Linked DNA regions of Homo sapiens: regions 1, 2 and 3 are each linked to region 4. The links are contacts of gene promoters, found by promoter capture Hi-C in human tissues and cell types (Jung and others, 2019). All regions are on one chromosome and are shown on one strand. Each heading gives the region's core, a stretch centred on a gene start or on the middle of the fragment in contact. The rest is flanking DNA. Distances are from core to core; before and after follow the strand shown.

The links. Contacts are between HindIII fragments. The study calls those that stand out against the background at their distance.
Region 1: a contact is called between a fragment that was not itself captured here and the fragment with the promoter of CABYR in region 4, in 1 of the 25 tissues and cell types used here (stomach).
Region 2: a contact is called between a fragment that was not itself captured here and the fragment with the promoter of CABYR in region 4, in 1 of the 25 tissues and cell types used here (small bowel).
Region 3: a contact is called between a fragment that was not itself captured here and the fragment with the promoter of CABYR in region 4, in 1 of the 25 tissues and cell types used here (spleen).

The regions. Positions count from the first base shown.
Region 1 is chr18:24,302,691-24,308,944 of GRCh38, reverse strand. OSBPL1A (oxysterol binding protein like 1A) reads left to right here. Exons shown (of 28, transcript NM_080597.4): 14 at 5,227-5,308. Among named protein-coding and RNA genes, the nearest start is that of MIR320C2, 16 kb to the left of the region's middle. The HindIII fragment of the contact is 5,355 bases long and covers 1-5,168 here.
Region 2 is chr18:24,374,723-24,381,209 of GRCh38, reverse strand. OSBPL1A (oxysterol binding protein like 1A) reads left to right here. Exons shown (of 28, transcript NM_080597.4): 2 at 3,675-3,797. The coding sequence starts at 3,677. All of the region lies in intron 2 of LOC124904268 (a long non-coding RNA gene), which reads right to left. Among named protein-coding and RNA genes, the nearest start is that of OSBPL1A, 20 kb to the left of the region's middle. RefSeq lists a silencer at 2,271-2,565. The HindIII fragment of the contact is 6,496 bases long and covers 68-6,487 here.
Region 3 is chr18:23,924,756-23,930,732 of GRCh38, reverse strand. LAMA3 (laminin subunit alpha 3) reads right to left here. Exons shown (of 75, transcript NM_198129.4): 63 at 2,493-2,610; 64 at 1,968-2,108. Among named protein-coding and RNA genes, the nearest start is that of LINC02958, 55 kb to the left of the region's middle. The HindIII fragment of the contact is 8,922 bases long and covers 1-5,977 here.
Region 4 is chr18:24,134,529-24,140,944 of GRCh38, reverse strand. It overlaps CABYR (calcium binding tyrosine phosphorylation regulated), which reads right to left and starts at 1,883. Exons shown (of 6, transcript NM_153769.3): 1 at 1,827-1,883. TTC39C (tetratricopeptide repeat domain 39C) reads right to left here. Exons shown (of 14, transcript NM_001135993.2): 14 at 5,345-6,416. RefSeq lists an enhancer at 2,239-2,298. The HindIII fragment of the contact is 11,741 bases long and covers 1-6,416 here.

The sequences.
Region 1 (6,254 bases), core at 1,242-3,741, 170 kb before region 4:
ACAAAAATTAGCCAGGCATGGTGGCGGGCGCCTGTAGTCCCAGCTACTCTGGAGGCTGAGGCAAGAGAATTGCTTGAACCCAGCGGGGCGGGGCGCACAGGTTGCAGTGAGGTGAGATTGTGCCACTGCACTCCAGTCTGGGCGAAAGAGTGAGACGACTCAAAAAAAAAAATTCAGTTGTTCATTTTAACTATATTTAACTACATATTAGCCACATTTCAAGTGCTCAGTAGCCACATGTGGCTACCACAACGGACAGCGAAGATATAGAATATTTCCAGCATCATAGAAAGTTCTATTGGACAGTGCTGGGATAGGCTCTTAGAGGCTCTGGGTGGTACTAGCAAAGTGGGGGTTTTATTTGTTGAAGATGTCTTGATTCTGTAGGATCTGAACTGTTTTTGTGTTACAAGAAGTGATGAGCAGGCCAGGCATGGTGTCTCACGCCTGTAATCCCAGTACTTTGGGAGGCTGAGGTGGGTGGATTGCTTGAGCCCAGGAGTTCCAGACTATCCTGGGCAACATGGCGAATCCCCATCTTAAAAACAAATTTTTTTTTTTTTTTTAATTTTGAGGCTGAGGCTGCAGCAAGCTGTGGTCACACCACTGCACTCCAGTCTGGGCAACATGGCAAAACCCTGTCTCTACTAAAAATACAAAAATTAGCTGGACGTGGTGGCCCATATCTGTAGTCCCAGCTACTTAGGAGGCTGAGGTGGGAGGATCACCTGAGCCCAGGAGGTGGAGGTTGCAGTGAGCCAAGATCACGCCACTGCACTCCAGCCTGGGCGACAGAGTGAGACCCTGTCTCAAAAAAAAAAAAAAAAGTAATGAGCAGATGATGCTCGAGTTTAATGGAATGAGAAAATAAGATAAAGCTTTTCTGATTTAAGAATAAATGATTCCCGAGGCGGGCAGATCACATGAGGCCAGGAGTTCGAGACAAGCCTAGCCAACATGGTGAAATCCTGCCTCAAAAATACAAAAATTAGAAAGGCATGGTGGTGCACGTCTGTAATCCCAACTACACAGGAGCCTGAGGCACGAGAATCACTTGAACCTGCGAGGCGGAGGCTGCAGTGAGCTGAGATCGCACCACTGCACTCCAGCCTGGGCAATAGGGTGATAGAGCCAGCCTCTCTCAAAAACAACAACAAAAAAAGAATAACTGATTCCCAACTAAAATAAATGTGCAGAAAGTTGCATGTACATCCACGTGGAGCTAATAAAGATTGGTACATCCATGCAAGAATGAGGCAGATGTATATATGCTGATATATTTAAGATATACAGTTAAGTGAAAAGGACAAGGCATAAAATGATGTACCAAATATGATACTACTTGGGAGGAAAAAAAACAGGGATGTACACATATATATTTGTGTAGACTTAGATCATTCAGGAAAGATGAGAAATTAGCACTTGTTGCTCTGCAGCTGAGAAAGCTGCAAAATAAGATTGTCAAGTGTGTGAAGGAGAATTACTTTTCTCTCTATATCCTTTTGTTTTTTATTTTTACTTTATGTAAATACATATTGCAAAGTGAAACCCTAAGAAAGTTACAAAGCAGGGGCATAATAATCGCCAGATGTCAGAAAGAATAAATGTGCTTTTGGGTTGACTTAGGAAAGATGGAGTATGGGTTATTATTTTTTTCTTTTTGAGACAGGGTCTCACTTTGTCATCCAGGCTGGAGTGCAGTGGTGTGATCACAGCTCACTGCAGCATTGACCACCTGGGGTCAAGTGATCCTCCTGCCTCAGCTTCTTAAGTAGCTGAGACTATAGGCATGTGCCACCAAGCCTGGGTAATTTTTTCATTGTTTTGTTTTTGTTTTTGTTTTTTTTTTTTTGTAGAGATTAGGTCTCATTATGTTGCAAGGAAGGTCTCGAAATGCTGGGCTCAAATGATTCTTTTGCCTCAGCCTCCCAAAGTGCTGGGATTACATGCATGAGCCACCGAGCCTGGCCAGAGTATGGGGCTATCTTTGAAGTGGATTTGGCTGGAGTTAGGAAGACTTAGAGATAAGTGCTACGGCACCACTGCTTGTAATAGCGGCCATTTTCTGCAAAGAAGAAAGTGATCAGAGTTTGACAATCTATTATTTTTAAAGTTTGAATTAATATTGAAATATAATGTTTGCAGAAAAAAGGAATTCACTTTATGTCTTCAATTTGATGTATTCTGACAAATGTGTATTGTCTGTGTAACCACCACTCCTATCAAGATAGAGAACATTTTTATTATGTCAAAATGTTGTTCCCTTGCTGCTCTTCCCAGATAATACCCTCCACTTCCATCTCTGGCAACCACTGACCTAATGACACTGATATAATGACAATGTCATTATAAGCATGATCAGTTTTCCTGTTGTAGAATTTCATGTAAATGGAATCATACAGTATGTGCTCTTAGGTGTCTTTTTTCACCGTAATGTTGTGTGTATTAGTAGTTTATTCATTTTTATTGCTGAGTAGGTGGCAATCTGCTTCTGTGCTTAATTAACCAAATGTGGATTTTCTGCAGCAAATAGCCTGGAATTAATTACTTCTCTACTAGCCTATGCATTCCTCTCTAGCTATTCACCCCCTTGATATGCATTTTCGAGCTGCCCTGTAGGTTAGGGATCATAAGGTAATTTAACATCAGCTTAACTCATACAAAACCAACAGCTAAAATTTTGGTTTCTAAGCAGGAGACCTGTGTTGTAAATGTGGCTCAGCTGCTCACCTGGGGTAACTTCTGATCCTCTAGGCCCCTGTATCAATGGGTTTAATCCTTGTTCTTGTGTGCTTTGTCCAGATAACTTGGGCAAAGTTAAAATACTGTTAAACTTTAGGTATTATAACATTGCTCATAGTGAGATTCCATTTATGTAGAATAAATAAATAGAAATTAAAACTTAAAAAGAGTCCCTGTATTAGTTCGTTCTCATGCTGCTAATAAAGACATACCCCAGACTGGGTAATTTATAAAGGAAAGAGGTTTAATTGATTCACAGTTCCACATGGCTGGAGAGGCCTCACAATCTTGGTGGAAGGTGAAGGAGGAGCAAAGGCATGTCTTACATGGCAGCAGGCAAGAGAGCTTTTGCAGGGGAACTCCCCTTTATAAAACCATCAGATCCTATGCGGCTTGTTCACTATCATGAGAACAGCACAGGAAAAGCCCACCCCCATGATTCAATTACCTCCCACCGGGTTCCTCCCACAAAACATGGGGATTATTGGAGCTATAATTCAAGGTGAGATTTGGGTGAGGACACAGCCAAATCATATCAGTTCCTGACATAATATCAATGGCATAGAAGTCAAAAATGAGAAACCATGTTGGACTCTGCAAAATATTAATAAGAATTAACTTTCATAAATTGATTTTTAGTTTTTCAAAATATAACTAGTAGCGACTAAGCAAATGGGAGACCATATTATGTTTTATTATATTAATAACCTCTTCTTTTTAGTATCTTTTAGTATCAGTTAAAAAGCACTAAGTTGTTTAGAACAGAAGACATACTTTGTACACAACTTAAAACAGTATGTGTAGATTGGATCTTCTCCAGCTGACCTGTTATGTACCCTTTAAAACAAGTAAATCGTCGATCAAGGAAACTTATTAATAACTGTTAGATGGAAATATGATTCAAGGGAAGATAAATGTGATTCATGTATTTGAAGATGATGCTATAGAAGGTGTTTCCTGCCTTTAATTATAACTTAGGAAAACTATCCTGTTTATTACAGATTCATAGTCTGCAATTGAAGCCATTGCTTACTTTTATGCCTCTAGCTTACTTTCATCATAGGAAGGATAAAACAGTATCATTGACTTGCACATAAGCAGAGTATTAAATATGTATAGAGCAAGAATGATGATTTTCTATTCATCATGAGTGATGCATTTGGTTGCAGTGCATGTTTTGGTGCCTCTAGATAAACTTTTTCCCTGCCCCTCAACCTGTATTCACAGGCTGTGTCTGGAAAAATTATCAGGCATATATGGTGTTTTAAATTGCATAGTGTAGGTATTCTCCCCCTGCTCTCCACCAAGTGAATGGTACGTAGGTGTTGTTAGAGCCCTCAAAACAAAGGAGAGTAATACAAATTTTGAAGAGAATATTGCCTGTCACTAATGTGATAACATGAATAATTCTACTGTGGTTGAGTTGAACTTTGTAAGCACTAAAAAATTTATAAGGTGAAATAGGAGAAAAGAGTATTTACCTATGCCACCTTGACATACTGATCTATAGTAAGTTTGATTTTGGGGGTGCAAAATGTTTTGTGATGGGCTAGCTGAGATTAGGAGTACAAAGTAGGGAAGTTTCATAAGGCTAAATATATTACTCTACCTAAAAGAATGTGATTCGATTGTTTATAAGGTCAAGATTCTCAGAATAAATATTTTCTATTTTGATAACCAAGCAAATTTACAATAATAATTTTCTTGCTTATTCTTCCCACCTCTTTAAAGGGAAATGATATATAAAACTGCCTTCAAAATGACATTTTTAATGTAATAAATGGATTTGACTGATCTTTCATTTTGGATTTCTAAATCTGCACTAAGATGGGATGTAACTTTCATCAAGAAATTCTATATTTATGTTTTTTTGCCTTTAGGGATCTAAAAATGTAGAACTTTCAAATTACAAGGAAGAATGCTTTCTATAATTGACTTTACCTTATTTTCAGAAGCTTTGACACACTAAGAAAATGTCCTTTTTGGTTTGATGATGTGGGGGCTGTATGCACTTAGATTGCTGAACGAGAATCAGCTTGTGGTTTCCAAATGTTAGGACCATCTGGATTTTTTTTTCTGAACAAAACAGTTTTTAAAATATATTTTTAAGGAATGCATTTTATAATTTCTTGATGAATTTCATGAGGCCTACTAAAAGTGCTAATAAATCAGAGAATTATAATTCCTCAGATACACATGGCATAATGAGATAGTAATAGTAATGGATGCAATTGTATGGTATCTACACAACAGATGTTGAATGTATTTAAACCTTTAAAATATTTATTTTTACTTTACACTTGATTAAATGTTATATTCAGTTTACAAGGAAATTTTCTCTCACCTTTTTCTTTTCTTTAAGGCATATGTCTCTGTTATGGTATATCAATCTATGTACTGAAAGTTTTGATAGAAACACTAAAGCATAAGTAATGTAAAATCTTTTATTACTTTGTTTTAATTTTGTCTTTTCTTTTTTTGCAGAAAGCACAGTCATGCCAACAGCGACTAGATAGGGAAATTTCCAACTTTCTCAAAATGATTAAGGAGTGTGACATGGCTAAAGGTAAAAAGACAAGCACTATCCCTACAATCACTCTTTAACACATAGATACTGACCTGTTGTAGTTTTGTTTGACTTCATTTTTAAACAGTTTTTGGTTTTGAATTAAGAGTTATATTTGATAAAACTATTTTGAAACTTTAAAAGGGCAATTTAAAGTTTCTACTCACAGAGGATGCTTGCTTTAGAGATTAATAATGTTTTTATCCTTTTAAAAAAAGAAAGATAAGTTTAAAGTTAATGTTTTTGGCCTGTAAATTAATTTTGGCTGCGGAATGAGAATTCTGCTTATGAATCCCAGAAGACTTGGGTTTTGGAGTCAGAATGTCTAAAGCTTGAGGCCTGGCGCAGTGGCTCATGCCTGTAATCCCAGTACTTTGTGAGGCCAAGGCATGTGGATCACTTGAGGTCAGGAGTTCGAGACTGGCCTTGCCAACATGGTGAAACCCTGTCTCTACTAAAAGTACAAAAATCAGCCGGGTGTGGTGGCACGTGCTTGTAATCCCAGCTACTCGGGAGGCTGAGGCAGGAGAATCGCTTGAACCTAGGAGACAGAGGTTGCAGTGAGCTGAGAATATGCCGGTGCACCCTAGCCTGGGCGACAGAGCAAGACTCTGTCTCTCTCTCACACACACAGACACACCCACACACACACACACACAAAGAATGTCTTAGGCTTGAATCCTTACTCTTCCACTTACCGGCTGTTACTTCGAACAACACTTTTAACTCTTGCGAGCTTCAGTGCCCTCATCCATAAAATAAAGAAGTTGGTTGTTTTAGGCCTTGGCCTTTTATGCTTCTATAAATGTATATATGATCTTGTCTAGCTAATTATTAATCTTCCTTTCAGTAATAACTTTTTATGTCTTCATTCTCTATTATGAGTTCTCAAGAGTTGACTATAAATAGCCTACAAGGCTGGGCGCTGTGGCTCACACCTGTAATC
Region 2 (6,487 bases), core at 2,066-4,565, 240 kb before region 4:
CCTACTCCTTGGCTATAATCCCACTTGTCCTTGCTGTATTCAGAGTTGAGCTCAAGCTCTCTTCCCCACTGCAGGACTCTCTTGCAGTGGTCCTTGTAACTACCACGGGGGTCCTGAATAAAGTCTTTCCTTTCATGCTTTAACGAGTATCACTGAATAATTTTTTCTTTAAACAGCCTGAGCCTGGGTTTGGCTTCCTGCAGAGTTTATAAGAGCTTTTTACTTTTTCTTTTTTCTTTTCTTTTTTTTTTTTTTTTGAGATGGAATTTTGCTCTTATTGCCCGGGCTGGAGTGAAGTGGCACAATCTCAGCTCACTGCAACCTCCGCCTCCTGGGTTCAAGTGATTCTCCTGCCTTGGCCTCCCAAGTAGCTGGGATTACAGGCATGTGCCACCATGCCTGGCTAATTTTTTTGCATTTAGTAGAGACGGGGTTTCACCATGTTGATCAGACTGGTCTCGAACTCCTGACCTCAGGTGATAGACCCGCCTCAGTCTCCCAAAGTGTTGGGATTACAGGCGTGAGCCACCGCTCCCAGCCTGTAAGAGCTCTTTCAAAGGGAAGCTACTGAGCGAGGCCTTGTGCGAGCACTGGAAACAGGCCTTAGCCAGGCTGGTGGCTTGGTAGGGCTATAGAAGGGACCAGATGTGGGATCCTGGATCCAGGAATTTGTTGGGGGATTAGGCTGCTCTTCACTTTCTGCCTCTGAGCTCACAGGTATTTCTGAGGTGTGGGTGAAAGGAGAACACTTCTGAGGGGTGGAATTAGGACCCTCAGCTGGACATGCAGCAAAACATCCTTAGCGTGTGGGCCAGATAAACCAAATATGGATAAGAGCTAGGCCAGGCCCACAGCTAGATATCAGGGGTTTCCCCTCACTCTGGGGATTCCTTTGCTAGTTTTCTGTTTCTAATGTCTTTGCTAATGTCTTCCTCTTCCTTGGTTTTTTAATTTTGGTGAGCTACACCCCTGGTGGCTTCCTGAGAAGTGTTGCATGGGAAATAAATTTACATACTGGTATATTTTAAAATGTCCTTATTCTACTCCTACTTTTGATTGGCTGGTTATAGAATTGGGGATTGGAAATAATTTTCCTCCAGAACTTTTAGGTATTGCTTTGTTGTCTTTTGGATGCTTATGTTGTGATAGAGAAGTCAAAATCATTCTGATTCCTGCTCTTTTGTTTATTACCTGATATCTTTTGTTACCAAAGTTCTAAAATTTCATGATGATGTGCTTTCATAGGTTCTATTTTGTCTGTAGATCAGAAATCTTCCAGAATTGTTGGGCTCTCATTAGGCCTTTCAATGCTGTAAGACTTCCTTAAATTCTTTTTTTTAAGACGGTGTCTTGCTCTGTTTCCCAGGCTGGAGTGCAGTGGCGTGATCTCAGCTCACTGCAACCTCTGCCTCCCAGGTTCAAGCGATTCTCCTGCCTCAGCCTCCCGATATAGCTGGGACTACAGGCCTCCCCTACCACACCTGGCTAAATTTTTTTTTTTTATTTTTAGTAGAGATGAGGTTTCACCGTATTAGGCTGGTCTCAAACTCCTGGCCTCAAGTGATCCTACCACCTCGGCCTGCCAAATAAATTCTTTATTTTCTCTGTCTCTCTGTTTTCTTTTTTTAGAACTTCGTTTCAATGTTTGACCTCCTGGACCAATTCTCTTAACATTCTTTTTTTTTTTTTTGAGACCAAGTCTCACTCTGTCACCCAGGCTGGAGTGCAGTGGCATGATCTCAGCTTACTGCAACCTCCACCTCCCAGGTTCAAGTGATTCTCCTGCCTCAGCCTCCTGAGTAGATGGGGTTACAGGTGTGCACCAGCAGACCCAACTAATTTTTGTGTTTTTAGTAGAGTTGGGGTTTCACCATGTTGTCCAGGCTGGTCTTGAACTCCTGGGCTCAAGTGGTCCACCCGCCTCGGCCTCTCAAAGTGCTGGAATTACAGGCATGAGCCACTGTGCCTGGCCAACATTCATCTTTTATCTCCCATTTTCTTAACATTTTATTTTCTAGGAGATATTCTCAACTTATTTTCCAACTCTTTTATTGAAGTTTTAATTTTTGCTATTTTTATTTCCAAAGTTCTTTTTCTCAAGCTTTATTTTTTTTTAATAGCATCTTGTTTTTGTTACAGGACAGAATGTCATTTATTATCTAAGGATATTAGTTATTATTTTTTAACATTTTCTTTGATACCTTGTTTTCTCTAGGTTGCTTTTCTTCCCTGTTTGGTTTTGGTCTTTGTCTTTCATGTTTAAGAGTGGGGAGCTAGAAAGTTGATTGAAAACTGAGAGAGTGGGTGGGCCCTGTTGACTGCTAACTTCATTGTAAGGTTTGCCTGGCTTGACCACTTGCTGGGACCTCCTGGTGTCTCTCTTGTACTTTAGGGAATATAACCAGCTAAGTCTCATAGAGGGTAAAGCCTGGCTTGCCTGCATAAGAAATGCCGATTAGGGCAAGAGGGCTGGAGACAAGCTGTTTGCTCTGCTCTGTTTTGAAACCATGCCTTCAAAACCCATCCAGTCACCAGCCTATACAGCCCATCTCTTTTAGCCTCACTGGAAGATGTATTTAACCAGTCCCCTGTTGATGACATGGAGTGGTTTCTAACTTTTCCACTATTACAAATAATGTAATCTTTATAAGCATGGTTTCAAAATAATCTTGTATAAGATGACAGCAAAAGTGAGGGGAAAAATAAACATTGAAATAAAAATCTTGTGTAAATGTTTTTGCAGGATAGATTTCTAGAAATAGAGTTGCCTAGACAAAGTAAATGGTATATATGAATTTTGAAGTTTATTTGATATTGCCAAATTGCTGATCTCCACCTGTAATGTATGAAAGGTTGTATGCATTTATATTCATTTTAGCAGTCTACAGGAGTGCTATTTCCTGCCCATGCCAGCATTGTTTCTTGTCTTTTTTTATTTTTGCTAATTCAATGGGCATGAAAAATATCACTTGTGTTTGAATGATTTTTATTTATTTGATTATTAGTAAGAATGACATACTTCTGGGAATTGCTATTTGTAATATTTGCTCATTTTGACATAAATGCTTGAAATTTGGTTGTAATTTTCTATATTTGGTTTGGGGCTTGATAAGAAAATGTGACAGAAAAAATAAATTTGTTTACATATAGCCACTTCAGGGCATTTATCTATAATGAGTTTCTATTCAGAATGATTCTTTGCACAGTTTTGAATGTGTTAGTTTACATGTTAGTCTTACACTATTCCTATATGAATGGTCATATAGGAAATAAAGTCATACTTTGACTTTATCTCTAATTTTGTTTTTTCCTTTTATGTCTAATTTTTAATGTAATAACTATTTGCATAATACTATGTATTTGACAGAATGCTTTCACATACATAATCTTACAACAAACAGCTTATGCGGTTGGTTGTATTCTGCAGATGAGGAAACTAAGGCCTTAAGAAGTTAAGAGACTTGCCCAAGTGTCTCCTGTACTGCTTCAATAATAATAGGAAGGGCAAGGGGTCTCAGGCTCAAGTTCTCACCCTGCAACGGATTTATTCAGTTGTTGTGTCTGTCTTATCAGCTGCAAAATGAGGATTCTTTCCCCTTTCTGTATTAGCAGGTGATATCTAAAAGCTAATTATGTTCTTAAATAATAGCAATGTTATTATTTTCTTAATTTAGAAATGAACACAGAAGCGGAGCAACAGCTTCTCCATCACGCCAGAAATGGCAATGCTGAAGAAGTAAGACAACTATTAGAGACCATGGCGAGGAATGAAGTGATTGCTGACATTAATTGCAAAGGTAAACTTTGAATGGATTTTGTAGCTTTCTCTTATGAGTCTGCACTACTCTTAGCATTTATTTAATGCTAACCTTTCTTATCTATCATGTAATTAATCTCTATCTCTCATGCTAGGAAGAACCCCACAGATTGGAGGAAATGTCTCTCCTAGCCCCCTCTGAGTCAGAGAAAGTGACATAAGAATTTTAAATTCTTAAAATTGTTATGGATCCCAAATATTACAAGCCACAAGGGTGGCTCTAGCCCACAGGATACATCCTATTGAGAGGTGACAGCGTGCTGGCAGTCCTCACAGACCTCGCTCGCTTTCGGGCCTCCTCTGCCTGGGCTCCCACTTTGGCGGCACTTGAGGAGCCCTTCAGCCCATCGCTGCACTGTGGGAGCCCCTTTCTGTGCTGGCCAAGGCTGGAGCCGGCTCCCTCGGCTTGCAGGGAGGTGTGGAAGGAGAGGCGCTAGCGGGAACCAGGGCTGCGCGCGGCGTTTGCGGGCCGGCTGGAGTTCCGTGTGGGCGTGGGCGTGGGCTTGGTGGGCCCCGCACTGGGAGCAGCCGGCCGGCCCTGTCGGCCCCTGGCAATGAGGAGCTTAGCACCCGGGCCAGCGGCTGCGGAGGGTGTACTGGGTCCCCCAGCAGTGCCAGCCCACCGGCGCTGCGCTGGATCTCTCACCGGGCCTTAGCTGCCTTCCTGCGGGGCAGGGCTCAGGACCTGCAGTCGGCCATGCTTCAGCCTCCCACCCCCTCCATGGGCTCCTGTGCGGCCCAAGCCTCCTCGATGAGCACTGCCCCCTGCTCCACAGCGCCCAGTCCCATCCACCACCCAAGGGCTGAGGAGTGCGGGCGCATGGTGCAGGACTGGCAGGCAGCTCCACCTGCAGCCCCAGTGCGGGATCCACTGGGTGAAGCCAGCTGGGCTCCTGAGTCTGGTGGGGAGGTGGAGAACCTTTATGTCTAGCCCAGGGATTGTAAATACACCAATCGGCACTCTGTATCTAGCTCAAGGTTTATAAACACACCAATCAGCACCCTGCGTCTAGTTCAGGGTTTGTGAATGCACCAATCAATACTCTGTATCTAGCTACTCTGGTGGGGCCTTGGAGAACCTTTGTGTCCACACTCTGTATCTAGCTAACCTGGTGAGGATGTGGAGAACCTTTGTGTCTAACTCAGGGATTGTAAAGGTACCAATCAGCACCCTGTCAAAACAGACCACTCGGCTCTACCAGTCAGCAGGATGTGGGTGGGGCCAGACAAGAGAATAACAGCAGGCTGCCGGAGCCAGCAGTGGCAACTCGCTGGAGTCCCCTTCCACACTGTGGAAGCTTTGTTCTTTTGCTCTTCGCAATAAATCTTGCTACTGCTCACTCTTTGGGTCCACACTGCTTTTATGAGCTGTAACACTCACTGCGAAGGTCTGCAGCTTCACTCCTGAAGCCAGGGAGACCACGAGCCCACCGGGAGGAACAAACAACTCCAGACGCGCCGCCTTAAGAGCTGTAACACTCACCGCGAGGGTCCGCGGCTTCATTCTTGAAGTCAGTGAGACCAAGAACCCACCAATTCCAGATACACTATGATAATTTTTTTTTCTTCTTGAAGACATTGCAGTTGACCCAGCAGGTCTGAGTGTTTACTGTGTGTCTTGGAGATAATGATGAAGAGACACATGGGATCCCTGCCCTTATTGAGCTTAGTCTAGTAGATTAACAGATCAGACTAGTCTGCATTACAAAATAGGTACCAGGATCTGGAAGTGCAGGTGTCATGGGAGAGGTGTGAAACTGGAACTTGAAGGATTTGCTTCTTGGAGGAGACGATTCTAAGATGAAATGTGAAAGAGTAGGAGTTAACCAGGTGACGATAGAGAAGAAAAAATGGTTCAAGGAAGAAGAAACAACATAGCAGCCAAGTCATAATATGCCATGTGTAGCAAAGTGGCCAATACATCACAACCTTGCATCAAATGTGCAGAGAAATAAAACGTGTTCTCAAAATGGCTCTGGTATTGTAATAAACCTCTTCATGTTCTGGGAGGTATGGGGAGAGTAAACGTTAGTCTTTGGGTACTTCTGTCTTTTTTTTTTTTTTTTTTTTTTTTTTTTGAGACAGGGTTTTGTTCTGTTGCCCAGGCTGGAGTGCAGTGGCATGCTCACAGTTCATGGCAGCCTCAGACTTCTGGGCTCAAGCCTTTGTCCCACCTCAGCCTCCAGAGTAGTTGGGACTACAAGCACATGCCACCACGCCTGGCTAATTTTTGTATTTCTTGTAGAAACGGGATCTTGCTGTGTTCCCCAGGCTGGTCTTGAACTCCTGGTCTCAAGCGATCCTCTCATCTCAGCCTCCCAAAGTGTTGGGATTACAGGTGTGATCCATTGCATCTAGCCATACTTTTTTTAGTAGCCTTTTTGATAAAGTCTTGATCTCCCTTCCCCTGTGTTTCCTCTAGCTTGGTGTTTGAGTGTAGAGGTGAGACTTGCTGTGTGTTCGTGTGGTGGAGAGGCAGGTTTTCCTCGAATCTATGACTTGGCTTTGGGTCCTCAGCCACCCTTGTCTTCCTGGTGCTCCTTAAGCATTGGAAGCTGACGTGAAACTCAGGTAGAAAGTCAAACTCAGGTCTCTCAGTGTGTCGTGTGGCATAGGTAAGGCTCCTTGGCTGTATCAGGAGACTCTCATGTTGGCTTGTGTTACCCTCTG
Region 3 (5,977 bases), core at 1,159-3,658, 210 kb after region 4:
TTATTATTTGAGACAGAGTCTTGCTGTCTTGCATAGGCTAGAGTACAGTGGCACTGTTCCAGGCTCAAGCGATCCTCCCACCTCAGCCTCCTGAGAAGCTGGGACCACAGGCGCACACCACCACAGCCGGCTAAGTTTGTAATTTTTTGTAGAGACAGGATCTCACTATGTTCCCTAGGCTGGTCTCAGACCCCTGGGCTCAAGAGATACTCCTGGCTTGGCCTCCCAAGGTGCTGGGATTACAGGTGTGAGCCGTCATGCCCAGTCTAAATTTTTCTATTTTTATTTTTCTTTGGCTGAAGTTATTTCTATCGGATCAATTCATTGCTAAATAAATTTTACAGCAAAGACTCGATTCCTCAATTTTTAATATAAGAATATTACAATGATTTCTTCTCTTCAGTCATTATAAATTTTTTATTTCCTAGTCATTATTTTTGGGAAGTCCAATTCTCCATGTTGAACTCTGAAGATGTAAATTTGGGCAAGATAATTTGACTCTTCCTGTCAATCATTAATTTAAAAAATGTGCAATCTCAGCACTTGTCATTTCAATTTTGTTTGTGTTTTTTCTACCAAGTATAATTTCTGCAGTTTTCAACAAGATGTGATTCTTTGGTAAGATTTCAGTCTAAAACAAGTTTTACAGTGTGTGGTTATAGCCATTGTTGATTTTACTTTGTGTTGACTTTTTTTCAATTGGCAATATTCATTATGAATTGCATAAACTAATGCTAACTTATATGTATCTTTAGCTAACCCATTATGAAATTGAGGGCAATGTCCCTATGCTATATCCAGGATTCCCCCATTGTCCAGGGCGGATCTAATCTTTTGCTAACCTAATTCTTCCATCTGCTCTCGATCATTTTGTGAATTGTGTACTAAGTGTTCCTACACGTGGCAGAGGAAACAAGTGTTAGGTATCATAAGAGCTAGATCAAAACATCCTGCTTTCATGGAAAAGCCACCCCTATAGTCTAAGTGTTAGCATGTGCTTCTTTAGGGCTCATTTTAAAAATAAAACCTCAAGGACTGGTGAGCAAGCCACCAAGAGAGGGGTGGCCTTCCTGATATTACAGAGCTACAGAGTCAGCCACCAAGAGAGGGGCAGCCTTCCTAATATTACAGAGCCACAGAGTCAGCCACCAAGAGAGGGGCGGCCTTCCTAGTATTACAGAGCCACAGAGTCAGCCACCAAGAGAGGGGCGGCCTTCCTGATATTACAGAGCCACAGAGTCAGCCACCAGCCATTTTCTTGACAGATACTAGAAGTCTGCTGTGCTCTGCAATCCTAAAGAAACAAATTCAGAAATAATCATACTCTACTTCTATTTAAAAATTCCACTCATTCCACAAATATTCATTTCTAAATATTAGGTGACTTCTGTATCTACATAACCACACTAGCTAAATCTGCTTAAGTTACAGATGGTATCTCCTTGTGGAAGAGAATTTATGTGGCTCTGTTGTACATGAGGAAAGAGAAAAGGATCTTATTTTCTCCAATTCCCCAGGTATAAATATTGTCCAACTAGCTGCTGCTGCTGCTGCTGCAAAAAGGCAATCTGGAGAGAGCTACCTTTAATGCAATCAAAAAGAAATCATAGGGACACACTCTGATTTTCTTTCTGAGCTCTGAAACTTTAAGCTACATTATTAACTACAGTAGTTATAATCCACCTTAACTCTTATTATAAAATATACCTGAAAAGAATAAAAATGAGTCCGCGAGTACACACAAATGCAACTCTGTAAATTATAATGTTACTTTCTAAACTTGATTTCTTTGAGGACCTACCCCAGAGTGGGGAATAACGTTTATGGTTGAACTATACAATAGCATTTACTGTGTGATGATAGAAAAAATGTACAACTCCACCACTTTCTAAATCTCTCTGTTGTTTTTAACATCAAACTTTGAGTCAGGTTTAAATCTTGTTTGATATTAATGCACTACTGCATACCCATGTCTGATGATCTAATAATATGCCACTGGGTTGAAAGGTCTGAAATCCAAATGAGGCCTGGAGGTGGTCAGTAGGTGGTAAGCCCAAATCAGTGAAACTCAATTGTCCTCCTCTGGAGAATGAGGCAGATCGCACAAGCTGAAATGCAAACATGGAATAAATTACTGGCATTGTAATCATTTCTTGGCTGAAATACAGTACCTTACCCTATCTCACTTTACTCAAACTGATTAATGTGATTTATGTAACCTCAGAAAGAAAGAGAGCTTACTTTTCTGCATAATAAGTCAGCAATCATCTGTAAGTTTTTGTGTATATAGTTGGTCTTCCTACTTTCCTACAAAGTTAATGTGCAAACCTGAAAAGGTTCAGCATCTTGCAAGCACATGGGGAGTGTATATGAGCCAGTTCACTGTAACACTGTGTGCTATCAGAAAGAAGTCAAAAGTTGCTGCGTTAATGGATACGGAAGGTGGGTTGGCTGGGAAGCACTCCTTCACGAGGTTCTGAACTTTCACTTACCTTCCAGTCTTCCGAGCACTTTTTGGTTACTCCCACAGTATCATTCAATCTAACGACACCACTGGTTTTCTTCAAATTTTTCATGCAGCCTCGGAAAGCAGGCGTAGAAATGTTAAATCTGATTACGAACACAGATAAAAGGAAGAGATGGATCATGTCAGGCTCACGTGAAATCAGAGCTGAAACGCTGTGCTCTTTAGTACTTTTCACCCATAAATGAGTAGGTGTTTTATGTTTATCCTTTCCCATGGGATTCCCATAATGCTACTTATTTTATGATGCTGGGAGAACTGACTTCCTTTCTGTGTAAGTTTACATTCCCAGCTTTAAAAATGCAGACAACAATGTTAACAGAAGAATGGCCAGTGGCCGCAAAAGGTAAAGAGACAGAGAACATGCACAATATCTAGAACTGCCCGTCCCTCCCCGCTGGAGTCACGGCATTGCAGGTGGATAGGACATGTATTAATAAGTTAATAGATGATATATGATATACATATATATTAATAAAGTAATAAATCATTTGTAGGAACCAGGAGTGCTCTAGAAAACCTTTTGCTCTTTTTTTTCTGTTCACTGTTAAGTTAGCCACTGTAAAGTCAGAAGAAACAAAGTGTTACTTTTTGGTTCTATTCAATTATGAAAAACGTAGCTTGATTTAACCAATGCCAAGCTGAAACAATGGAACACATTGTCTGGGTTCATATGCTGCTGTATCTACCACCTCCTACCTGTGGGCAAAGGGTTATTGCCAGGATTTAAAAAATTAACGGGCCGGGTGGGGTGGCTCATGCCTGTAATCCCAGCACTTTGGGAGGCCAAGTCAGGTGGATCACTTGAGGTCAGGTGTTCGAGATCAGGCTGGTCAACATTGTGAAAACTTAACTCTACTAAAAATACAAAAATTAGCTGGACGTGGTGGCAGGCACCTGTAGTCCCAGCTACCCGGGAGCTGAGGTTGGAGAATCATCTGAACCCGGGAGGCGGAGGTTGCAGTGAGCTGAGATCGTGCCACTGTACTCCAGCCTGGCAACAAAGCGAGACTCTGCCTCAAAAAACAAAAACAAAACCAAAAAAACAAGTTAACGTACAGCAAGAGCTTGCAGCAGTGCATGGCACCTGGACGTGAATGCTCAGCAGGTGTTTCTGAGAGGCAAAATTGTGCTGCTCTGGACCAGCCAAATTGCCTGGGTTCAAGTTCTGTCCCTTCTGATTGAACAGGCAACTTTTCTCCGTGCCTGTTTCCTCATTTAGACAATGGGAATATGTGAATCTGTTTCATAGGGCTGTCATAGTCTAAGAAAGTTAATATGTGTAACACACTCAAACAGTGTTTTGTACAGAGTAAGGACTCAATGTGAGATCGTCAAGTTAGTAACTACTCCCATATTACTGCTCTTATATAATGAGAGCAATTTCTAAAGCAGCTCTTTCTACATGGCCCCAGGGCATTTCCCCTTCGATTTGACTTCTGGATCTGTCTGGAGCTGAATGCACATAAAGCATTCACACACATGAACTAACTGAAGTCCAGGCAAATATTTGTGTTTCTTAAACAAATGATGTACTAAGAAAACCCAAAGCTGATTTCATTCTAAATCCCTAATGCAGCTTACTTTTCTAAATGGAAAGGTGTCTGCATTCATTTTAATCCAATTCATTAGAAACAGTTGAGCTACCTGTAATAGACCTAAAATTAAATTTCATTAAAAGGAAAAGAAAGAAACAAATCCTCACTGGCATTACAGTATAAGCCTAATTATTTTATAAAGATGGCCTTTTGCCTCAGAAGAGGAGGAGGGTTCATTTCCATTCCTGGAGCTTGCCTATTTATACATGGTTTTAGGTCAATTCTTCTTTGGGTTTCAACATATCTCTTGGACAACGACATTCCAGATGTCCCTCTCTCCATAGATTATTGGTCAAAGAAAGAAGGTTGCAGAAAAGGAAAATAGTAGGAGAGAAAGGCAGTTAACAGATACAGACCACCTATTTTGCACGAAGCTCTATGAATCCAACTTACAATAAGCTTTTGAGGGAGGTATTTTCTCTTTTATATTATTTTATTTTATTTTAAGTTCTAGGATACATGTGCAGGAAGGGCAGGTTTTCTTATCTAACATTTATTGAGCACTGACCATGTGCTGACCTCTGCTAATTCCTTTACACACTCTGAATCTTCCAACCACCCTAAGAGATAGGCAGCTACTATGCCCATACTATAGATGTAGCAATGAGGCATTAAGAGGTTAAGGCCTTGCCTAAGGTCACACAGCTGGTAAGTGGTAGAGCTGGGGTCTGTACTGTCAGTGTGTCACACAGGTTAGTGAGGCTTGAAGCCCTTGCTTTTTACACTTACAGTTGGTATTCCTGCAGCACTTGGAAGTGATCATGCCTTTTTCTAGAAGAGTTACCTACAGCAGAAGTGTTAAAATGGAAGAGATTTACTTCCACTATTCCTGGGGGGATTCTTGTTACCTTGGCTTACCTGAGGACCTACAGTTCTACATTTACTCCAGGATACAGGGTCTGAACATACTTGCTAGAGGAATGTGATTGCACTGGGGCATGAGTTGTTGTGTTGGTGGGTTCCTGCGTTGGGGTATTTATGTATACTTTGGGCCAATCTGTCCACAAAAGCTTAGCCAGCTCCATGGCTGTTGCAGGCCGACTTCAGAGAGCAAAAAGAACAAAAGGCAGCCCTAATCTTGGTGTTGGGTACTTAGTCGATGTTCAATAGATCTACTTTTTGGATCATTTTCATTTTAGTGTGTATAATCACACTCTGTAAACAATGGTGTAGGTCCTCAAGAAAAATGCCCTTGTTGGTGTCACACCCTCTGGCATTACCAGGGATGATTTGCTCTTCTCCTGGGTAGGAGATGGGATTAACAGAATGATTTCTGATTATAATCGGAAACAAGCCATTCCAAGATCTGGGTCCCCATTCCCAGAAGAAACACTACAGTGAGAGGGGGAAGAAACAAAACGTGCACAAAATCCCTTGAGCAAAGCTGATTTAGTGATTACACTTGCTTGCCTTGCTCCAGGTTAGGTTTGAGAACTTTGTCTAAAAGGTCCCTCCATTTATGCCAGGGACCAGAACACCTCCCTGCTCTGGAAGCGTTGGCTGGTTGCCCCTACAGAGCTTGGCTGTGGATTATCCATGGAACTCCTCTGTGCCCACCCCACCTCCCAGTGACTCATGCCCAATGGCAGTTTCAGGAATCTCTGGGCCACCAAAGACTTCACCACAGGGATGAGGCAACACCCAGAACAGCTGACTATTCCTTAGAATTTTGCTTTAGAGGGAGTGAAGGGCCAGTGAAATCTTTTGACTGGCCTCTATCTCCTGCATTTTCCATGTTCCAGTGATTTTAATAAAAAGTCAAAATATAGGCTGTGCATGGTGGCTTATGCCTGTAATCCTAACACTTTGGGAGGCAGAGGCAGGTGGATCACCTGAGGTCAGGAGTTCGAGACCA
Region 4 (6,416 bases), core at 634-3,133:
AGATGAATGGATAAAGAAAATGTGGTACATACATACAATGGAGTACTATTCAGCCATTAAAAAAGAATGAGATCCTGTCATTTGCAACAAAGTGGATGGAACTGGAGATTATTATGTTAAATGAAGTAAGTGAGGCACAGAAAGGAAAACATTGCATGGTCTCTTATTTGTGAGAGCTAAAAATTGAAACAATTGAACCCACGGACATAGAGAAGGATGGTTACCAGAAGCTGGGAAAGGTAATGGGGCCTGGGTGGGGGAGGGGGAAAGTGGGGCTGGTTAATGGGTATAAAAAATGAATAAAACCTACTACTTGAAAGCACAACAGGGTGTCTATAGTCAATAATTGTACATTTTAAAATAACAGAAAGAGTATAACTGGATTGTTTGTAACACAAAGGATAAATGTTTGAGGGGATAGATGCCCCATTCCCAATGTGATTAACATTGTATGTCTGAATCAAAACATCTCATGTGCCCCATAAATATATACACCTACTGTGTACTCACAAAAAAAGAATTTTTTAAAAAATCAGAAGTGGGGATTCCGCAGTCCCACATGCTAAATGCTAAGGGGCATAGGCAGCATGACATGTTTGATACATACATACTATTTGATACATATATATATTTGATACATACTCATATATATCATATGTCTAATTTTCTTTAAGTACCCAAAGTGAGTAGATAGACCGTTTTGAAAGTGGCTCCCAGAGGCCGGGCGCGGTGGCTCACGCCTGTAATCCCAGCACTTTGGGAGGCCGAGTCGGGCGGATCACGAGGCGAGGTCAGGAGATGGAGACCATCCTGGCTAACACGGTGAAACCCCGTCTCTACTAAAACAAAAAATCAGCCGGGCGTGGTGGCGGGTGCCTGTAGTCCCAGCTACTCGGGAGGCTGAGGCAGGAGAATGGCGTGAATCCGGGAGGCGGAGCTGACAGCCGAGATCGCGCCACTGCACTCCAGCCTGGGTGACACAGCTAGAGTCCGTCTCAAAAAAAAAAAAAAAGAATAAAAAAGAAAGTGGCTCCCAGAAACCATGATGGCGCCAACAACCTTTCAGGAGGCAGTTAGCAGTTGGTGCTACCAAAGGTGGGGACAGCGGCCATGCACTCCATGATCCCCCGTCCCACTAGTTCTCACCCCGACTTTGGGAACGTGTGGGGCCAGGGACGCTAAACGTCCTACAGTTCAGTTCCCCACAAAGAACTGTCCTAAGCAAGCTGAGAAAAGTCAACGGGTAAAATTGTCACAAACACTATTAGGGTTATTTAAAAGCGACAGCTTAATAATTCTTCCCAGATCTCTCCTATCACCAATACTGGTCCACCACTGGCGGAATTTAAATCCTGCCCCGCCCAACTGTAAACGTCCATGCGCCCACTACCACAAGGGTAACGCCTTAAGCGAGAAATACGATGCCTTTCAGGATGCCAGCGGGGACTTCGGAGCCATAGGTAACCGCACTCCCCGACCTCTCCCTAAAGAACCTCCGGGATGTGGGCCCCCGCTGTGTCAGTGCTCGTTTTGCGCTAGGTCTGTTTGGGAGAGACGGGAGTGAAATGTAGGAGGCTGGGCGTGCTCACATCGCCTGGACTTGTCCAAGAGAGGCGGGCGACGGACCCACCGAGGCCTCAGATTCGGCAGCTGGCCGTCTGGTCGCCGCACTCCCCGGTGTGGGCCGGGGCCGCCCCACAGGCCCCCCACCCCCGACTCTGAGGACCCTCCGCCTGCCCCGACGACCTCTCCCACTGCGAGAGACTCCCTGAGACATAATGGTCTCCGAGGCCGCAGGGTGCGCCTTTTCTCCAGATTCTCCCCACCTGCTTTCCGGCCGCGCTCTTAAGAGCTTCCTCGTTGCCCCCTTGCCGGCGGCTCCTGAGGAGACTTGGCGCTTGCGAGCGTTTTTATAGCCCCGCAGGCATCGGGGCGTGCATCACGAAGCTCCGCATCACAAAGCTCCGCACCACTCAAGGAGGCGGGGCCACAGCGGCCGCAGCCAATGGGGAGCCGAAAGCGACAAAGGCCATGATTTGGCCGGCGAGGGAGACTTATTTCCCCTTTTCTGGCTAAATCTGAACGGATTTAGGTGATTTCCCAACAAATAGCCAGGAGTAGCTCAAAGCGACTGCCTCTCCGTCTTTGGTCGTTGAGCTTAAAATTAGAGCTCGTTTGGAAAGAAAGTAAGAGATTTATGGCAGTGCTGTCTTGTCACTGCCTCGCCATTCCACACATTGCTCCTGGCCCCATAAACTATAGCTCTCTTCGGTCACCTTTAGGAATAATAATTTCTGCCACGTTGTAGACACACAGTGAATAATTGTATGCAACAGAGCACTTTTTCTTTTGTGAAACTCGCCTGTGGAATGGGAGTTCAGCATGAATCCAGAAACTTCCTGTTTCTCCACAGTTGAGATCAGACACCAACTATCCCCACAAAGCACACCGTCAGCAACAAGTCAAGGTGTTACTGTGTGTAACTTCAGCTCAATTTTACCAAACTAAAGGAATACTGCTTCATTTAAAAACGCCCACTCTGCCGGGCACGGTGGCTCACGCCTGTAATCCCAGCACTTTCGGAGGCCGAGGCGGGTGGATCACGAGGTCAGGAGTTCAAGACCAGCCTGGCCAAGATGGTGAAACCCTGTCTCTACTAAAAATACAAAATATTAGCCGGTCGTGGTGGTGGGTGCCTGTAATCCCAGCTACTCTGGAGGTTGAGGCAGAGAATTGCTTGAACCTGGGAGGCGGAGGTTGCAGTGAGCCCAGATCACACCACTGCACTCCAGCCTGGGCTACTGAGCGAGACTCCGTCTCAAAAAAACAAAAAACAAAACAAAAAAAACAAAAAAACGCCCACTCTCTGCTCTTTCACTCATTTAGGCTCAGGTATTTGGGCTGGGCTCTAAATAACACCATAATCATGATTATCAGAGTACAAGCAGCCTTAATTTTGATCCATCTTCAAATGTTTAAAAAGCAACTACTTTAAACCAAAGAGCATCGCCAGGGCAGATATCTGACCAAAAACAAAACAAAACAAAACAAAAACCAAACCAAAATAAAACAAAACCCTATTTTTTAATTCAGAAAAAATTAGGGCTTCCAGAGCACTTTGCAATAAAAGCAATGTTAAGGCCTCAGTCAGCATTATCTGGTGCCATTCATTAATCCACTTAATAATTATTTTACTGAGTGCCAGGAAAGCTCCCTCTTCTCGGGAAGTTTACATACTTAAAAAGGGAGAATTAGCGAGACTCCGTCTCACAAAACAAAACAAAAAAAAGGGAGAAATGCTTTTAGACTGAGTATGTTGGTGGGTCTGCAGATATTTTTCATCCTTCATCACTTGCCTCCAGCACCACTTTGGTAATGTAAATAAAAGTGAGATGAGGCTGTCATGATTTCTGATAGCTTGGTTTATAACACATTTAGGTGTCAGAGACATAATGAACTGAGCTACTGAAAATCCTAAGTACCTCATCTATGGTGTCTTTTGGAATTGGAGACATTTATGGTTTTTTTAACGTAACCTTGGTGGGTCATCTCAAACATCTATTAGGTGTAAGGTATTATGCAGAAATACCTGTAACTCAAAAAACAAGATTTTACTCTCCATTTCTTCAGTGACTGTTTGGCTGAGTCATTCTGAAATGCAAATTGTTACAATGTAAACATCTAACCAAGAATTTTCAAACCACTGCCCATCGCTGCTTTGATTTCTTGAACTCTTAATGATTTGATGTGGTTTCACAATCTTGGCTTGTGTTCATCTCCCTTTCAATCACCAGTATGTTATTTTTTGGTCACCAATGATTTAAAACGCAAATGTACCTTCCACTGCCCCTCTCCCACACCCCAAATCCTTACCCTATGGAAGTCCATGGTTGTGGGTGTGGCCTCTGCATACCTCTCGTATTTCATGTCTCACCATGTGATTCCCACTTGACCCTCCAGAGTCTTGAACACACATGTCGCTTATCACCTCTGTGCTTTTGCTCATTAGGTCCAAGGCCTTGGATGCTGCTCCAGCAAGTGTTTTCACCTGACTGCATCCTGCTTCTCCTTTAGAACTCATCTCAGAAATCTCCTACTTTAGGAAGCCAGTGGGTTAGAAGCATTTTCTCAGTGGCCCCATGATGTATGCTCTATGACTTATCCTTGCTATATAATTCTATATAATTCTGCTTGTGTTTGACTCTTCTCCCAGATTTACCAAATCCTTAACAAAAGATGAATAGGGCAATGTTTCTCTAATCCACATCACCTGCATAAGAAATCATCCCAGGAGCTTGTTAAAAATGCCTTCCCAAGCCCTACCTAGAACCTACCAAACCAGAATCTCTATGTAAAACACGGAAATTGACAACCACTGGCCTCTGGGAGGAGGAATTAGGCATTACATAGAGGTCACCTGGGTTTCAAGTGTGTTGCTTCTATTTCATACCCAAGTCAACTAGGTGACAGAGATCAGCCCCCTTGCTAGCTTTCACAAGAAAGCCAGTTAAATTGTGCTCTTGGTGATTTCTGCATACTTTACTGAAAAAGGAGCATTATCTGTTATGGACCAACTTTCTCTTGCTCCCCTTATCCTTCTCTCTTTCTGCATTTCCTCTTCTAGCTTCTAAAGTATCTGCCTCGACTATGTATCTTCTTGGATGATCTCGATTTAACAATTTTCTTTCTACAAAATATACCATCTGCAGAAACCAAAACAGTACATCATGATTTTGTGAATGTGTATCTTCATAGTGAAAACCGTATTTGAATACTTGCCACCATGATTTGCTTAAGGAAGAAATCCACTGGAAAAGTTTACACAGCAAAGGTGTGTGTCTGCGTGTGTGTGTGTGTGTGTGTGCATGCCTGTGCATGTGCTCATTTTAAAAATCAGATATGACTTGTCCTTTAACTTTAGTTGGCAGAGACAGAAAAGTGCAAATTCAGTAAATAATTGACTTACACAATATGTGACAATAAATACTCTAATTTTCTGTGACATCTAAAAGTTATAATTCTTTACTCAGTAGAAGACAGCTATCAGGTGCTAAAATAAAAAAAAGATACCTAACCCAATAAAGGCAAAATCTTAGTTATATTAACCAGCAAGGTACATATTACATTATTATTACTAGACCATGCCTCCAAGTGTGTCAAATTATAAAAATGTGTTCAGCATACATAAAATATACATTAAAGATTTCTCTCATCATAGGCACAATCTAATACAAAAATATATTTGACATTTATAAGTTAGAAGATCCATTGAGAGCCTCCAAAATAGGACAGGGGAAGGAATGAGTGATGACAACATAAAAAAAGAAGCACACATAGATGCAAATAGTTCCACTTATATGATTATTTTCTTCATCAGCAAAGGGTTAAGAGCAGTTTACACCAAACCAAGTTACCAAGCAGATCACAATCAGTTCACAGGTTGGATAAGTCACGGCACGCAGGCCAGAAAATGTACTCAGACTTCAGTCAACCTAATGGGACAGTGTACTCACACTGTGGTTTTGTTGTTTTGGAGTCTAGAAGCTCCATCTACCCATTCTCCATGGTCTACCACCATGTTAACACAGATTTACCACAGGCGCCATCTGTACCAAGCCTAGGATAGACTCTTTAAAAAAAAAAAGACCTGGCCGGTCACAGTGGTTCATGCCTGTAAGCATTTTGAGAGGACAAGGTGGGTGGATCATGAGGTCAGGAGTTCAAGACCAGCCTGGCCAAGGTGGTGGAACCCTGCCTCTACTAAAACTGCAAAAATTAGCCAGGCACGGTGGCAGGAACTTGTAATCCCAGCTACTTGGGAGGCTCAGGCAGAAGAATCGCTTAAACCCGGGTGACAGAGGTTGCAGTGAGCACAGATCACACCACTGCACTCCAGCCTGGGCAACAGAGTGAGACTCTGTTTCAAAATAAAAATAAAAATAAAGATTAAAAATTTTAAAAAGACCTACACTTTGACTAGTAAAGAAAACCTACAGGATGGTGTTGCAAAACGCAAAATTGTCTATCCAGTTAAGTGAGCTGAACACAAACTAATCTGAAGTCCTGAACTCTCTGTGGGGAAATAAAAGTATTTTTTTTAAGCAGGCAGAAATAAATGTTTTGAAAAAGATTCAAAAGCACAGGACCTTATATAATCTTTGAATGTGGAATAATAGTTCAAACAATATTTTGAACTGAAAATTCAAGAATGAACTCTCAAACAAAAATGTCATGATTCAGAATGCTCCATGATGATGACAGAAAAGCTTGTCACCTATGCTGCATGTTAAGAAGAGAGAAAAATGGCAACAGCCGTATTTTAAAGATTCATAATGTTCTTCCCTTCCATCTAGTTAAAACCAGATGTCCAGGCCGGGCACGGTGGCTCACACCAGTAATCCCAGCTCTTTGGGAGG